Regions from separate parts of the Homo sapiens genome. Here region 2 is linked to region 1. Evidence: promoter capture Hi-C in 16 types of primary human blood cells and fetal thymus (Javierre and others, 2016). All regions are on one chromosome and are shown on one strand. The core of a region is centred on a gene start or on the middle of the fragment in contact, and the rest is flanking DNA. Distances in the headings are between cores, read along the strand shown. Region 1 holds the start of POGLUT3 (protein O-glucosyltransferase 3). Region 2 has its middle 7.5 kb from the start of ALKBH8.

Region 1 (3,993 bases), core at 638-3,137:
CACCTACAAAGCCTAAATTATTTACTATCTGGCCCTTTAAAGAAAAAGTTTGTGAAACCCTGATATACACACATGCGTTTCTGTCAATAGAGTCGGAATTATTTTACCTAAATGCATATCATGCATATGAAACCAGTTGTCTGAGTATTTAGGGTCTAACTGGTAGACACGTTATCAAAGCAATGCCCAAAGACAACTTCAGGAGTGGTGTTCTGAATCAAATGTAGAAAACAAGCCACTGAGGTAGTTAAGGGAGAGGCAGATTCTTGCCTCAGCTCAAATTTCTCCAGTGGCTCTCTTTTATCTAGTTATAAAGTCATTTGCTTGGCATTCAAGGCGCTTGAAGACCAGAGGCTACAATCAACCAGGCTTTTCCGCTCAGTATCATTAAATTACAGTACTTATTTTCCCGAACACCACGGTCTCCTACGCCTCTGTGCTTCTGCACATGCCATGGCGTCCTTCTATATGCCTGCCCAGCAAACCTTCTCATCCTTCAAGTCTCTGCTCCTGAAATCTTCCTGGATTTCTCCAGTCTCTGGCAGTGCTTCAATGTTGCCACTGCACTCTGTACATACCTTCAATTATCTTGTACAGTGATCAGTTATTTGCATGTCTTTGACCAACAGACTGTAAGTTCCTTGATGGTCAGGCATTGTCTTTTCATCCTTAGATTCCCAGCAGAATTACCAAACACAGAAGTAGACATCAAAGAAGTATTTCTTGAATGAATGAAATTTTAAAAATCATTAAATCTAAAAGTGAATTATGTTTGGTTCCTAAATTCTCTGCTTTGCCCAGCTGTCAAGACCCCCTTACCCCTTTCCCAAGTTGGGACACACTTCTGGCAGCTATGTTCCCAGCTGGACTAGCAGGGGCAGAGGCACTGGTTTATTCTAATTGTCTCTTCGCTGATACAACAAGGTGCTAGTTGGCCAGAGCCCCAAATTATACATTAGCAAATCCTGACTGACAACAGCGTGAAACCAGCAGGACAAGTTTTAAGAAGTTGCAAAGGTTAAGACGTGAAGGACAACGTGGGAGGAGGACCGGGCAGAAAGGGATTCAGGACGAGATCCATCTCACCCTCCGTGGAGGGAAAACCGAATGATTTCTACTGAGTTTCCCTAGTTCCTGTAATCTGCTTTCAAAAACTCAGAACTAAAAAGGAAACAAAAAACTAACACGTAAACCCCTCCTCCTTCCTACGGCTCTGACATTTCCTCTGCGTAGGATTTCGTTGCTCCAAACCCACCAGGCCTAAGCCATGTAATCCGACGCGATCCGTCGGCTTGATGACTCACCACTGGAAAGCGCTCCCTGCAATCCCTCACAGTTCAGACAACTAAGTCCGAGATGGAAGGCAACGTGTGACTCACGGCACACTCCTTGTAACGCCCGGGCGCCGTCCATTCGCAACATCAGTCCCTGCACATTAAATGCGGAAGGGCCCTTCAAGTTCATTCATTCATTCATTCCACAAACTTTCGTGGTGATTTTTGCCCGCTTTGAGTATGGGCGGGAGGAGGGAAGAGGAGCTGACCAGACCCAAAAAGGGGCGACACACGCCGGGGAGGGACGCCACGCAGGCCGCGGGCGGACTCCCGGGCGGCGGGGACGCGCGGGGACCCGGCCGCGGGACGAGGGAGGCCGGCGGCTGGACACTACCTGCGGGAGAGCGAGTGAGGTTCTGGCCCTCCGAGTTGACCGCCTGCAGGTAGAAATAGCGGACCGGCAGGACGACGGCCGCCTGCAGCCCGGGCCCCCACACCAGGCTCCGCGGCGCGCTGACCAGCACCTCCGGGGCCCCCGCGGCCACCAGCAGGGCGAGGCGCAGCTGCAGCAGCAGGGCCCGCGGGAGGCGGCGCATGGTCGGCGGGGCACAACTGCGGTCCAGCTCCGCGGCGGCGAGGAGGGGCCGGCAGCGCCGCGGACCGGGCGGGGACTGGGGCCCACCGCGGGGCGGGTCTTTCGGGCGGGAAAGATTGCGGCGCAGGCTCCCTTTCCCGCCCGCTGTCCCGCCTCGTCTCCCTCGGGCGGGAACGCGAGCCAGTGCCGCAATCACCCACTGCGCGCCCTGTAGGGGTCGACGATGGGTGCGCCCCTTCCTCCCCGCAGCCCCATAGGCCCCGTGGAGGAAAGGGGTGGAGAGGCCCGCCCAGAGACCGAGGCTGCGAGTGTGCGCTGGCTGTTGATTGCCAAGGCTTCAGGCACGCCTGGCCTCCACTTCCAGTGGTCTTTCCCTTTCTTTTTCTTCCTTCCTTTCCTTCTTTCTTCTCTTTTCTTTCTCTGTTTTTATACAGACAAGGGGGCTGGCTCTGTCGCCTAGGCTGGAGTGCAATGGCGCGACCACAGCTCACTGCAGCCTGGAACTCGTGGGCTCAGGAGATCCTCCCGCCTCAGCCTCCCGAGTAGCTGGGACTGACTGTAGGCACACGACACCACGCTGGCTAATTTAATTTATTATTATTATTATTATTATTATTATTATTATTATTATTACTATTACTATTTGTAGAGACGGGGTCTCCCTATGTTGCCCAAGGTGGTCTTGAACTCCTGGTTTCAAGCAATCCGCCCGCCTCGGCTTCCCAAAGTGCCGGGATTACAGGCATGAGCCACCGGGTCCGCCGCTCAGGTGTTTTTAAAGGACGTAGACCCGGTGGTGATTGTTGTGGGACGATGAAAGGGTCCGGCCCCAAGATCGATGTAGTTTAGGGAAATATCTTTTCCCAAGGAATGTCTCCGAGTTTACAAGATGAGCGCCAAGGTCACGCCCCCCGCCCTCCCTCACAGCCCTCTGTTCACAGCAGCACCGTTCTCTTGTGGCCGGTTTTGTTGCTTTTCTGCTTAGCAGCCTCCCTCACAGAACCGTGATCCCCCCACCCCACACATCCCTTTCCCCGCTTCCTCCCGCACTCCTCTTCTTCCAGCAGGTGTTTACAGAACATCCACGGAGTTTGGGCCAAGCCCAGAGTGAGGAGCTGGGCACTGGGGTGGCAGAAGACCAGGCCTTGCCTTGAGCCCTTGTGCGAGCTTTACCTCAAAGCCTCTGTAATCGAAGTGGGAGAAGGGGTGGTGGTGCGTGGTTGGTCTCAGCCACCTCCACCACTCCTCAGAAGATGAACGCTGGATCCAGGAAGAGATTGTCAAGGTTACTATCTGCCTCTCTTTTTTGATCATTTTATCCAATTTGTTAATGGATACAAATTTGTTAATGGATTGTTAATAGATCTGAATTTATTTAAAGCCAATAAAGATTCTCCTCTGGCTGAATGATCCAGAAGGAACTCACACCCCAGAATGGACACAGGATTTCTGCACCCTCTTGGGGGAACTTAATGCCCAAAACATCAGAGCCAGGCACTGGACAAGCCTTTGTCCGCCTCACGGCTTTAACCGTGCTACTCAGCATTCTTGCTGTGACCAAGTTTTACCAGGGCAAAATCTTTCCCACATTTTCACACTTCTCTTGACCTATTTTAGTAATGCTAAGCAGTGGTTATGGACAGTATTCTTTGTACTTTGGAAAGGTTTCAGGAACTGGTAGTCAGTTGCCGGTAAATTTTAGGGCTAAAGTGTAACATTACTTGGTATTACTTTCACTGATAAATTTTATTTTGTGGGGATGTCTCCTTGCTTTAAATAGAAAGCTTTGCTCTGTTCCAACTATCGCTTAAAAAAATTGTATGGAACACATTTTGCTCACACTCTTTCAAAATCTGACTTAAAACAATTTCCAGAGAAATAATCTGAGGTTTAGCCGGTACTGGATTATAGTAAAACATGGCCTAATAAATTACATAACATTTGGGTTAACACCCAGTATTTTTTTTTTTTTGAGAACACGTCAGGGAAGCCATATAATTGTACCTGAACACACTAGCGTTTAGCAATACTAAGCCTGCACCAACCTGTTTTCTTTCTCATCTTAACCTGTCTCCAAAGAGTATATCTCTTCAGAGCAACCAGTGCTTTGACCAGACTCTTTAT
Region 2 (3,993 bases), core at 766-3,265, 930 kb before region 1:
CCAACAACCTGAATACGTTTGGAAGCAGATCCTTCCAAGGGTATCTTGATAAGAGCCCAGCCAGTTGGCTTCTTGGGATTTTGTCTTTATGAAGTTCGGAGCAGAGAAGTCAACTGAACCAACCCAAACTTACAACCTACAGAACTGTGATATAATAAATTTGCGTTGCTGTGAACTGCTAAACTTGTGGTAATTTGTTACAGCAGCAATAGAAAACTATTACACACTCTCACCCCCATATCAAACAGTAGCTAAGGGAAGTAGAATTACCATGACTGCTATAAGGCCAATCATGATTCACTCTGTGGGGCTTGGATGAAGTGTGTCCTCCCTGAGATCAAGAGACCTTGACAGACTATGGGCAGGGAATGAGGGGAATAGGTTTCTATTAGCAAGAAAAAGGGGAGACAATCATTGGGTAGACCACTAACAGTGTGTCCCATAAGGGATGGAGCACTTATTTTTGGCCAGATTGTCACATTACGAGCTCTCCCCAAACCTATGAGAAAAGGATGCTAAAAGAATGGCCACTCTTCAATTAGCCAGACATGGTGGCATGCACCTATAGTCCTAGCTACTCAAGAGGCTAACATGGGAGGATCACTTGAGCCCAAGAATTCAAGGTGACAGTGAGCTATGATTGCACCACTGAACTCCAGCCTGGACGACAGAGTAATGAGCACTCTCATCAGCTAATAAAGCATCCAAAACTAGAATTCTTACAGCTATTGTATTCTAGTTCAAGAGTCTTCAATCAGAAAAAAATTGAAAATGGCCCCAATAGTCCTTGAAAATTGTTACATTTTTACTGTAGTTCCAAACTATGAAACTGTTTGACTGCAGTTTCAAACTCAATTCCTATGGTTATGAGGTTTCTAACCTCGCCCTTCTCCCTACAGCCCCTTTCCCCACCATCTGTTTCTGGCTACTTTCTAGTTTTTCTTCCAGTTGTCCCCTGTGGCAACTGTACTAGTTTTGCTTGTTTTTCTATTTATGGTTTAAAAAAAAAAAGTTTTATTTCTCAGTCTTTCCTCTCATTTACTCTTCTGCTACTTATTTTATTCCTCCTGGAAAAATGACAAATTTGTATCAAGTTTTCTTTCCAAAGTTGTGTCTTCTCTGCTGCTTCCCTGGTTGCTGGCTTCTTGAAACTTCAGCAAGAATGCATTATGTAAAACCATTTGATGTTCACTGTGACATTTCAGGACTGAATACATTATTCACGCTATGGTGATAAAAATTCAATGAAAAGTTTGCAGTTTTATAAGTCATATGGTGAAAGTATTCCCTGTACAGTAATTAGAGGCAAAAGGTAACCAAGAAAAAAAACAGAGGAGAAGGAAAAGGGTCAGCCTTTAATTTATAATACAAAACATAAAACTCAGCTTGGAGAATTCATTTATTATTATTATTTTTTTTTTTTGGTCATTTGCAAAGCATACAATTTTAGCTACGAAGCATTAACCTCCCCCAAATGGTCTATTTATTCTTGAGGCTAAAGGCCTGCTTACTTTGCAGAATAATTTTCTTTTCTACACAGATTTTTTAAATAGATGAGAATAAAGAACTAGCAGGCAACTCAGGGTGCAGGAAAATCTTTGGGGTGGCTAGAGGTGTGGGATTTGTGGATTTTAAAAGGTTATGATAAAATAAAACAAAATCTTTTAAAAATGTTTCCCTTAAATGTAGAAGAAAAAAGTATATTTTAAAAATGTATAAACATTTCATTTAAAAATGTCTTGCCACATTGATGGCTTCATTCTATCATTAATTTCTCAAAGACACAAAGATATTTGCCCAGAGAGGGCAAGCTTCATTATTAACTATATTTGTGATCGCTTCTAGTTTGGGGAGTAGACTTCTTGTCAGATCTGATTAGATAGTCTCAGCTGTTAGGTTGGGACTGAGAGCTCATACTAGGAGCATTAATTTTGCTATTTTCTGTTGGTTATTTGTGCTTGAATTATTGTCTATATTCATCTTCACTGTAGGGAATTCAGAGTTTTCTAACCCACTTGTCCATTTTGCAAAAAATAGTTTTTGGATTACATAATCCAAAAATCCATTTATCAGGCACCACAAAAAAATAATGTCTCGCTTAAATCAAAAGAGGGAGGATGCCAGAGGCAGCTGTCCTGCCTGTGAGCTCTCACTCCTCTCCTCTTCTAGAGCACCTCTCATAAAGTCTGTGACATGTAACATCAGACATTCACACCTAATGAAGCTTCCAGGATATTAAATGTGAATAGAGATTAATTTGTTTTAGATAAACATATAAATGGAATTTCTAGAATATTCTTCTAAATCCCACAAGCCATACACACTTCACTTTAGAGGCCACTGCACTAGGGCATGTTCCTCAAAGGCTGGTTCTTAGACTACTTGCATCAGAATCACTGAAGTGCTTGGTTAAGTGGTCTCCAACCCCACTAGACATAACGAGTCAACTTAAAGCACATATAAATTTTAATTCTCTGAACACCAGTTGGTTACAGTGTGTGCTCCAAAATCTCTGGGGCCAGGGCCCAGTAACCTGCATGTTTAACAAGCAATTTTGCTACTTTTGCAAGTGTTCAACCACTGAGGAAAAAGATTGTATGTTATTTGTCAACATAGACCTCTTTAAAAATCATCCCCAGAGTGAGAAGCTGCCAGATTTCTAGTATATTTGGAATTCTCATTTCAAGGGAAGTATTTTAATTTTATAAGGTGCAAGGACCAAGAAGCAGATGATTCAAATTTCAGATTATTAAATTATTAAAGAATAATAGATTATGTTTTATAATTTGACAAAAGTTTTTAAAAAATTTTTAATAAAAAATAAAAACAACTCTTTTTGGCATCTCTTATATCCCATTTTACAAATGTAACAACTGAGACTTAAAGACAAAATGTATGAGCTGTTTAAATATAAATTTTTTTATTTTTATTTTTGTATTTTTTTGAGATGGAGTCTTGCTTTGTTGCCAGGCTGGAGTGCAGTGATGCAGTCTCGGCTCACTGCAACCTCTGCCTCCTGGGTTCAAGTGATTCTCCTGCCTCAGCCTCCCAAGTAGCTGGGACTACAGGCATGCGCCACCATGCCCAACTAATTTTTTTGTAATTTTTAGTAGAGATGGGTTTCACCATATTGGCCAGGATGGTCTTGATCTTCTGACTTCATGATCCGCCTGCTTTGGCCCCCCAAAGTGCTGGGATTTAAATATAAAATATTTTAAAGAGTGATTTACATCCATGTCTGTTATCGCATGAGTAAAAGAGCTAGCTTTTATTTTATTTTATTTTTTATTTTATTTTTTGAGACAAGAGTCTTGCTCTGTCACCCAGGCTGGAGTGCAGTGGCGCAATCTTGGTTCACTGCAACCTCAGCTTCCCAGGTTCAAGCAATTCTCCTGCCTCGGCCTCCTGAGTAGTTGTGATTACAGGTGCCTGCCACCACGCCTGGCTAATTTTTGTATTTTTAGTAGAGACGGGGTTTCACCGTGTTGGCCAGGCTGGTCCCGAACTCCTGGCCTCAAGTGATCCTCCCGCTTTGGCCTCCCAAAGTGCTGGGATTACAGGTGTGAGCCACCGTGCACGGCCTAGGGCCAACTTTTATACGTTAAAACATGTACCTCTTTACATCTACCTTTTATTACAAGCACAAAGTGCTTAACATACACTATTCCTGAATCCTTCAATAACCGTACAAGTTTTATTCTCCCAATTTTACAAATGAGCTCTGAGGCTCAGAGAGTTTAAGCAACTTTCCCAAGATTGACACAGTTAGTGATAAAGCCAGGAGTCTAACCCAAAGGTTTCCCCTTTACCAACTGCATGCATTATTGCTGAGGGACACCATTGCAGAAAAGACGTGTCCTTTTTTATATTTTGAAGTATTCCAAGTATAATGAGACAAAAATATAGACATAAAAAGGTGAAAAATGTTTTGTTAAAGTGGGTGCATCTGTTATGCAAACACATACAGGGTAGTTTACATAGTATAACTTTTAA

What was found. Contacts are between HindIII fragments. The CHiCAGO score rates a contact against its expected background, and 5 or more counts as called.
Region 2: a fragment that was not itself captured here is called in contact with the fragment with the promoter of POGLUT3 in region 1 in 1 of 17 cell types (total CD4 T cells); the score reaches 6.0 in total CD4 T cells.

The regions. Positions count from the first base shown.
Region 1 is chr11:108,496,497-108,500,489 of GRCh38, forward strand. It overlaps POGLUT3 (protein O-glucosyltransferase 3), which reads right to left and starts at 1,888. Exons shown (of 8, transcript NM_153705.5): 1 at 1,669-1,888. The coding sequence starts at 1,870. It overlaps LOC112267909 (a long non-coding RNA gene), which reads left to right and starts at 2,565. Exons shown (of 3, transcript XR_007062880.1): 1 at 2,565-3,154. RefSeq lists a silencer at 1,521-2,040. The HindIII fragment of the contact is 8,220 bases long and covers 1-3,651 here.
Region 2 is chr11:107,571,241-107,575,233 of GRCh38, forward strand. No RefSeq gene overlaps it. Among named protein-coding and RNA genes, the nearest start is that of ALKBH8, 7.5 kb to the left of the region's middle. The HindIII fragment of the contact is 413 bases long and covers 1,810-2,222 here.